Regions from separate parts of the Homo sapiens genome. Here region 1 is linked to region 2. Evidence: promoter capture Hi-C in human tissues and cell types (Jung and others, 2019). All regions are on one chromosome and are shown on one strand. The core of a region is centred on a gene start or on the middle of the fragment in contact, and the rest is flanking DNA. Distances in the headings are between cores, read along the strand shown. Region 1 has its middle 42 kb from the start of CCDC182. Region 2 holds the start of OR4D1 (olfactory receptor family 4 subfamily D member 1).

Evidence for each region. The method cuts DNA at HindIII sites, captures the fragments that hold promoters and counts their contacts. A contact is called where the count stands out against the background at its distance.
Region 1: a fragment that was not itself captured here is called in contact with the fragment with the promoter of OR4D1 in region 2 in 2 of the 25 tissues and cell types used here (lymphoblastoid cells and mesenchymal stem cells).

The regions. Positions count from the first base shown.
Region 1 is chr17:57,785,034-57,788,759 of GRCh38, forward strand. No RefSeq gene overlaps it. Among named protein-coding and RNA genes, the nearest start is that of CCDC182, 42 kb to the left of the region's middle. The HindIII fragment of the contact is 7,195 bases long and covers 1-3,726 here.
Region 2 is chr17:58,146,572-58,150,636 of GRCh38, forward strand. It overlaps OR4D1 (olfactory receptor family 4 subfamily D member 1), which reads left to right and starts at 1,813. Exons shown (of 4, transcript NM_001386095.1): 1 at 1,813-2,013; 2 at 2,858-3,225. The HindIII fragment of the contact is 15,992 bases long and covers 395-4,065 here.

The sequences.
Region 1 (3,726 bases), core at 689-3,188, 360 kb before region 2:
CTACCCCCAGTCCCAGCCACAGCCATCTCCTGGCTGGGCTCCCAGCTTTCACCCTGTTCCTCTGAGGACATTTCCACATAGCAGAGTCTTTTATGACAACAGCTGAATCGTGTCACTCCTTGGCTTAAACTCTCCAAAGCTTTCTCTTCTCACTAAGAGAAGAGGATGCAGGGTCCTTGCACGGACTCCAGGGCCACATGTGGTCTTGCCCCTGGCTTCTTCTCCAACCTTATCTCCTACCCTCCCCGTGCTCACGTCACTCCAGCCGCACTGGCCTCCTTGCCATTGGTGGAGTGTGCTGAGCATGATTCCGCCTGAGGTCTTTGTCCTTACTGCTCTCTTTTCCTGTAACACTCCGACCCCAGACAACCACAGGGCTCCTTCCCTCACTCCATTCAATCTGTGCTCATTGTAGTAGCAAGGCCTTCCCTGACCACTCTCTATAAGATAGAAACCCCAACCTTTCCCCTTACTGTGTGTATTTTTTCTTCATAGCATGTATCATCACTTGACATAGTATAAGTTTCATAGTTATTTTTTGTCTCCCCCAACTAGATTGTAAGCTCCATGAGAACAGGAACTTTGTTTTGTTCACTGCTGTATCCCCACTTCCTAGTACAGTGCCTGGCACATAGCAGCTGCTCAATAAATATGTGTTGACTGGCCAGGCACAGTGGCCCACGCCTGTAATCCCAGCACTTTGGGAGGCCTTGGTGGGTGGATCACCTGAGGTCAGGAGTTCAAGACCAGCCTGGGCAACATAGTGAAACCCAGTCTCTACTAAAAATACAAAAATTAGCCGAGTGTGATGGTACGCGCCTGTAATCCCAGCTACTCGGGAGGCTGAGGCAGGATAATCGCTTGAACCTGGGAGGCAGAGATTGCAGTGAGCCGAGATTGTGCCACTGCACTCCAGTCTGGGCGACAAAGCAAGACTCTGCCTCAAAAAAAAAAAAAAAAGTGTGACTACAGGAATGAATTAGTCCATACTGACAACCCCCCACTGCCTGGCTAGGAGGCAAAAGATCCAAGGGCAGCTTCAGCACTGACTTCAGAGACATATTCATGACTCTGTGCTTTGTCTTTCACCAATAACCCATTAGATAGGCCTATAACTAGAACATAAGCAATAATGCTTTAGCATTCTCGGTCTCAAAAATATTATGTAAAACCTTTAAAGGTTGTGAGATAACATGATATCTTCCACTTCTGGGCTAGACAATCAGATTTCATTTTTTTCCATCATAGGAACAGAGACAAACTTGTGAAATCATTCACCCCAGATTTTCTCTCTGTTATATCATGTCATCACTTCTATCACTCATTGTTCTAGTGATACATTCAAAATAATGAACATTCAGGGAAATGCCGGCTGGGTCCAGGATGGCCCTGGCTGTTTTTAATCACACTCTTAAATAAAAGCAGAAATGCACCTGACCTTGTAGCATCTTCGGGAGAAAGAGGGTCAATGCTTCTAAATCTAAATCTCCCAACTTATTTCACCTAAAGATCAATTGTAGAATTGTGTGCACTGCAAGAAAGACCAAGAATATACTCAAAAATTGACAGAAGGACAGTGGCTTAGAAATCCACTCTTTTCCACAAATTGCACCCTCCCAGAGTCTATCAACTTCCCAGCCATATGCAATATCACTTTCCTGTGTTCATCTTGCCTAGATGGGGATGCCTTTGGGTGAGTGAGACATCTCCAAATAAGTAAAAGCTGTTTCAACTGGCTCCCACTTCTGTTTATTATGGAGTACCGTGAGCTGCCACCAAGCAGAAGATCCCGCTCCTGATATTCATGGTACTTTTAACTTACCAAAATCATGTCATGTATTATTAATCTCTATGGGAATAGGTGCAAAGCACTGACATCTTCCAGCAACCCCTTGATCCACTTGGTTCTATCCCTAGCCTCTCATGCTAGTTCACCCTTTTTAAGTCTATGTTCTGATTTACTTCTTCTTGGTGCTCTTGGGCCCTGGGAATGCAAAGTCCTTTCTCTTTGGGTCCAAGGTTTACCCCTCAGCCTTCAAATGTTAATTATTCTCCTTGAATATGACCTCATTCTTTCATTCAACAAATATTTGGACTGGATAAACTGATATAAATTCACAATTACCATTAGTGTGCTAAGTACTAAATAGAGATATTTATAAGGTGCCAAGGAAGCCTAGAGCAAGATTACTGGGTGGGGAAAGAATCTAGAAGATGGATTAGGGTTGGGGGCTGAAGGCGGCTCACCAGTTGGGAAGTCACTGCAATAGCCCAGGCAAGACACTGGTAGAGCAGCTGTGAGTGGTGGGGATGGTGCTGGGGATGGACTGGACCAGGGAAATTACAGAAGTAACTGGATAAGAGGGAGAGGGGCAAGTCCAGGGATACTCCCAGCTTTCGGGTGCAGATAACTAGACATCCACATCCCCAGAAAGATTGTTTGCCACCCCTTTCTCCTTTCTCTTCCTTACCTTCAGGATCCAGCCCATGTAATTGTCCCCAGTATAGTCACAGCTCCAACCTACCAGTCTCATCACACACCCTCTCTGTGACTCAGTTTCCTCATTCATAAATGGAAGCAATAATAGTCATTTCCAAGTAAGTTCGCAGTGATGAATAAACAGTTAATCTGTGTAAAGTGTTTTGGATAGTATCTGAGACATAATAAGCACTCAAAAAAATGTTAGCTATGGTCATCATCATTAAGGTCATCATTTCTTCCCAACCGCCCATCCTGAACCACCGTGCTTCTTTCCCACCTCAAGGAGCTATCCGTGTGTTCTTGGCTCCTCTGCTCTAGGTCTATGCACAGTCTAACATCTTTCCAAGATTTATTTTTTAGATTCCCAAATTTCTGCTGTGGAGGAACTCTTTGCTGCAAGACTTTAACTTGTTCTCAAAGTAAGCTGAATTAAACATGGAGATGCCTCCCTCGGCACCCCCAGCACTCCGCTTCTGCTGTATCCACAGCCGAATGAAACAATATAATCAGGACAGAAACTCCATTCCTTGGGTGGGTGCTGCCAACCACCTGCCTGGCTCCAGTTGAAACCTGCTTGTTTCTTTTTCCACTCTCTAAATGCTCACAGATGTCTGTCTGTTTTCCTCTAATACTTGACTTCCAAAAGATGGGGGATGATTGGCTACTTGTAAATATGTTAATCTCTCTTTTTCTTTCTCTCCTAATATCAAAAGAAGCAGGGGGTGCATGAGGGGATCTTTTTCTCCTGGGTGGAGTTAAAGTTGGCAAAACCTGCCAACAACTTTGTTGCATATTGAAGGGGGCTAGGAATAGTGCATTCCTTGACCAGAGAATTTGACTGAGCTCTTAACCCCTTAGCGTTAATCGCTCCACCTCCACTAGGGCTTTGAGAAGCATTAGAAGGACCCCAAACCAGGGAGTGGCCAACATGACCACAGACTAGTAGGAACCAGACAGGGTCTAGCTGGGAGAATTGGTTTCTGAATTGCTACAGGACATTCAGATTAGGGAACTGTTCCCAGGAGGAAAAGGCAGGAATGAACACCAGTGGTCCAAGCTGAGAATGGGAGAACGAGGACATACTCTAAGCATGTCCTCCACCACAAGCCTGCTTTACAGCATCTTTCAGAAAGGGCTGAAGGCTTTACATAGGAGAAGATACTGTCTCTGGTGTCAGAACCTTTAAAGTTTGTATCTGAGCAGGAAAATATTTACTATAGAAGGTGTGGTACATGGAACAATGT
Region 2 (4,065 bases), core at 563-3,062:
TACTTAGAATTTTATAGCTGTAAAATCCTACATAAAAAAGGAAAAACGTCTCAAATCAATTATCTAACTTTACACTTTAAGGAACTAAAAAAAGAAGAGCAAACTAAAACCAAAGCCAACAGAAGGAAAAAAACAATACAGATTAGAGCAGAGATAAATGAAGTAGAGAATAGAAAAACAATAGATACAATCAATGTAACCAAAGTTAGTTCTTGAAAAGATAAACAAAATTTATAAATGTTTAGCTAAACTAAGAAAAAAAGAGAAGAGGCAAATAAATAAAATCAGAAACATTACTACCAACCTTACAAAAATTAATAGGATTGTAAGAGAGTACTATGAGCACTATATGCCAACAAATTGGCTAATTTAGATTAAATGGAAAAATTCCTGGAAACACAAATTACCAAAACTGATTTCAAAAGAAATAGAAAGTCTCAACAGACCTATAACAAGTAAATGTTGAATCAGTGTTTAAAAAACCTCCCAACCAAGAAAAGTCCAGTACCAGATGGCTTTAGTGGTAAATTCTGCCAAACATTTAAAGGAGTATGAACACCAATACTATGCAAGTTCTTGTAAAAAAAAAAAAAAAAAACAGAAGCAAAGGGAACACTTTTTAACACATTCTATGAGGCCAGCATTATCTTGATACCAAAGCCAGACAAAGATACAAGAAAAGAACTACAGACCATATTCTTTATAAATACAAATGCGAAAATTATGAGATGCCACTTCACTCTCACTATTCTAAGTAAGATGGTTATTCCTCAAAAGATTAGGCACAGTTGCTATAAAATCCAGCAATTCCACATCTAGCTATATACCAAAGAAAAATGAAAGAATACATCCACACAAAATCCTATACATGAATATTCCTAGCAGCTTTATTCATAATAGCTAAAAAGTGGAAAGAACTCAAATGTCCGAGAGCTGACTGACTGATTTACAAAAGTGGTATATCCATATGATGTAATATTATCCAGTCATAAAAAGGAATGACTGGTACATGACTAGTACTGGTACATGCTACAGTACAGATGAAACTTAAAAACATAAGTGAAAGAAGCAGGACACAAAAGCCATATATCATCATATGTGTGTTATATGATTCAATTTTTAGGAAATGTCCAGAACAGGCAAATCCAGAGACAAAAAGTAGATTAGTGGTTTCCAGAGACTGAGGAGAGAACAGAATGGGCAGTGACTGCTAAAGGATATGAGATTTCTTTTCAGAACGAAGAAAATGTTCTGGAATTAGGTAGTGGTGATGGTTACACAAGTTTGTGAATATACTAAAAACCACTGAATGGTTAAAATCATTTAATAATTGTGAAGCTTATGGTAGTTGAATTATATCTTGAGGATGAACTTAGCCAATTTACATTGAGAGTTCACTTTGGCTGAGAGAAGAGCAGATCAGAGATTGGGATAAGAGATGGTACCTTAATGACTGTACATATGAAAAAGGCTTTGGAGTTTATAGAGGGGGTGACCTGGACTGTGTCCTAGGACATAACTCACTTTTCCAACTACAGTGGTGATAGGAGAGGGTGGAGGCCTTGCACTGCCCATGGTGCTGAGGGATTTGGTTCTTGTAAACCTCCCTGGGAATTCACGTCTCTTTAGGGTTCTTATCCTTCTTCATCTTGGTCCTTTGATCAGTAACTCTGAAATGTTGGCCCCAAGACAGTCTCCCAATAATTATGTGCATCTGATGCAACATCTCACATACTTTTTAATAACTCCCATTGCTCATTTGCCCTTAGCAGCCTGAGCCAGGCTTTATCTTATGAATTAAGCCTAAGTTTTACTCCCCAAGGAATTTCCCTTTCCTTAAGGCCAATCCCATATGTGTTCCTTGTCTGAGAGAGGCCAGGAGAAGAATGGAGCTACAGGAGAAGAGTGACCTGGGAGATGGGAGGCTCTAAGTCCTCTTGGCCACTGTGGGCTGGAGGAAGGTGATGGCCTCATTGTCCTTCCCATGGACAAATCAGCACGACAAAGCCTATCGTGAGACAAGCATGGGGTGGAGGGAAGGCATGGGGGAAGTCATCAGGCATTAATGCAAGGGGAACGGGATTTGGGAAACATTGATTTTATCTAACATTAAGACTTTTGTCTGTATTGGCTTATGTGCTGGGTGGAATTTAGAACAGAGGGTGGGAGGGAGAGCGGAATATAGACATACACTGTTATCTCCCCCGCCTCCCACATACATACTACAGCTTCTTCCCACACCTAGGAGAAAACACAAACAGGTCTTGCTCTGACACTTTCCACCCTCTACTGTTCCTTTTTAAGTCTCATCTTCCTCCATCTTCCCCCTTCTCCTGCCTGCTTCTCTCACTCACTCCAGATTTTCTTCCCTTCTTTATTGCTGTCCCTCCATCTTATCCTCTCTTTTCTTAAATCTTGTGTTTAACAATACCTGTTAATGCTCCCTGGATGACAACAGACTAGATTCTACCCCATTTTGGGAACCCACTTATTCCTTCTCCCCTCGTCTCTCCTAGTCCTGTGTGGGCTGATTTTCTAAGAGCAAAGACAGATGGGAGAGAAGATTGAGTAACAACAGAAGAGGTCTAGAATCCTCCCCTTTCCCCATACAGATCCATGTCCCTCCCTATGTCTATTTTCTTTCTTGTCTAGAATCCCTCTAAATCTATTTTCTATGCATGTAGGGGGAGGAAGCATTTGCAAAGATTCTGATGGGTTTGTGGAAAGAATCGGGCCATGCTAAGATGATGCTTCTAGGATTGTAAATCTGGTGATGCTGGGAATTAGGATTCTTGGATTCTCTTTGAGGTCCTATAAACTGCATTCTATCCAGTGGCTACTCTCTCTTTCTTCCCAGCTCTCACGGCAGTCTGGCCCATCCCAGCACCCTGTCCTCCATTAAGCAATCACACATTCTTTTGGGAACCAACTATGAGAAAGGGTCTGTGTGTACCACGTACTGTGTAATACTTAACATATTGGATTTGCACTGAAATTACAACACATGTGAGGAACAGAGCCATCCTCATGAAAAAATACCAAGGCATAGCAACATTATGGAAGAGCTAATTACTCTTGAACCTTGAAGGAAGGGTAGAATTCAGACAGGTGAACAGGACAGAAAAGCAATTCAGATGCGGCACTGACTGGATGAAGGCACTGAGACCTGAGGGACCGAAGAAGAGATAAGTTTGGCTGAAGCTGAATCTTCTTAGAGGAGAGCAGGTAAGAGGAGAATAGTCATTAGGAGTGCAAATTCTGGGTCAATCAGACCTGGCTCAGAATCCCAGCTCTGCTTCTTCTTCTCCATGTGATCTGGGAGAAATTAGTTAACCTATTCAAGCCACAGTTTACTTATCTGTAAAGTGGAGATAATTTATGGTACTTACTATACTTATAAACATGGGAATAATATGTGAGAATTAAAAAAGATAATGCCAGCAAAATATTTAGTATAGTGTCTATCACATAGTAAGCATTCAAAAAATGTTTACTACGATGACAATTACTGCTATTACAACAATAAATGCTTACTACCACAGTTATTACCATTACTACAATTACAATAAATGCTTACTACTACTACTATTAAGTGGCAGATGGACCTGGAAAGAAAGGTAGGAGCCTGTTTGTGTGGAAGCCCCTGAAATCCTAACTAAGTACAAATTCCTTCCTGTAGACAATAAAGAGCCATGGAAAATTTTTGAAAACCTTTTGAAATAGAGGGGGAAGATGTTGTTGAAGAAGTTTATGTATGTACTATGTTGCACAGTGTGGATTAAAATGGACCAAAACCTGGAGGCAAGAACCCACTTGGAGGCCCACAGCAATAAGCCAGATAGGAAAAATAATTTGGCAGTAATTTCAAAGGAAGAACGAATATGCCTTGGTGATAATACATGTGGAGTTCAAGGGAGAAGTCTAGCTGGGTGAGGGGATAACAGACAGAAATAGGAGAGCCAGAGAGGTATTTGGGTTTAGAGTAAAGAAGTAGCAAGAATGATTTCATAATAATGACAGGCAGCTCACAGTGCCAGATGGAGCTGAAAGAACCCACGGTTACTG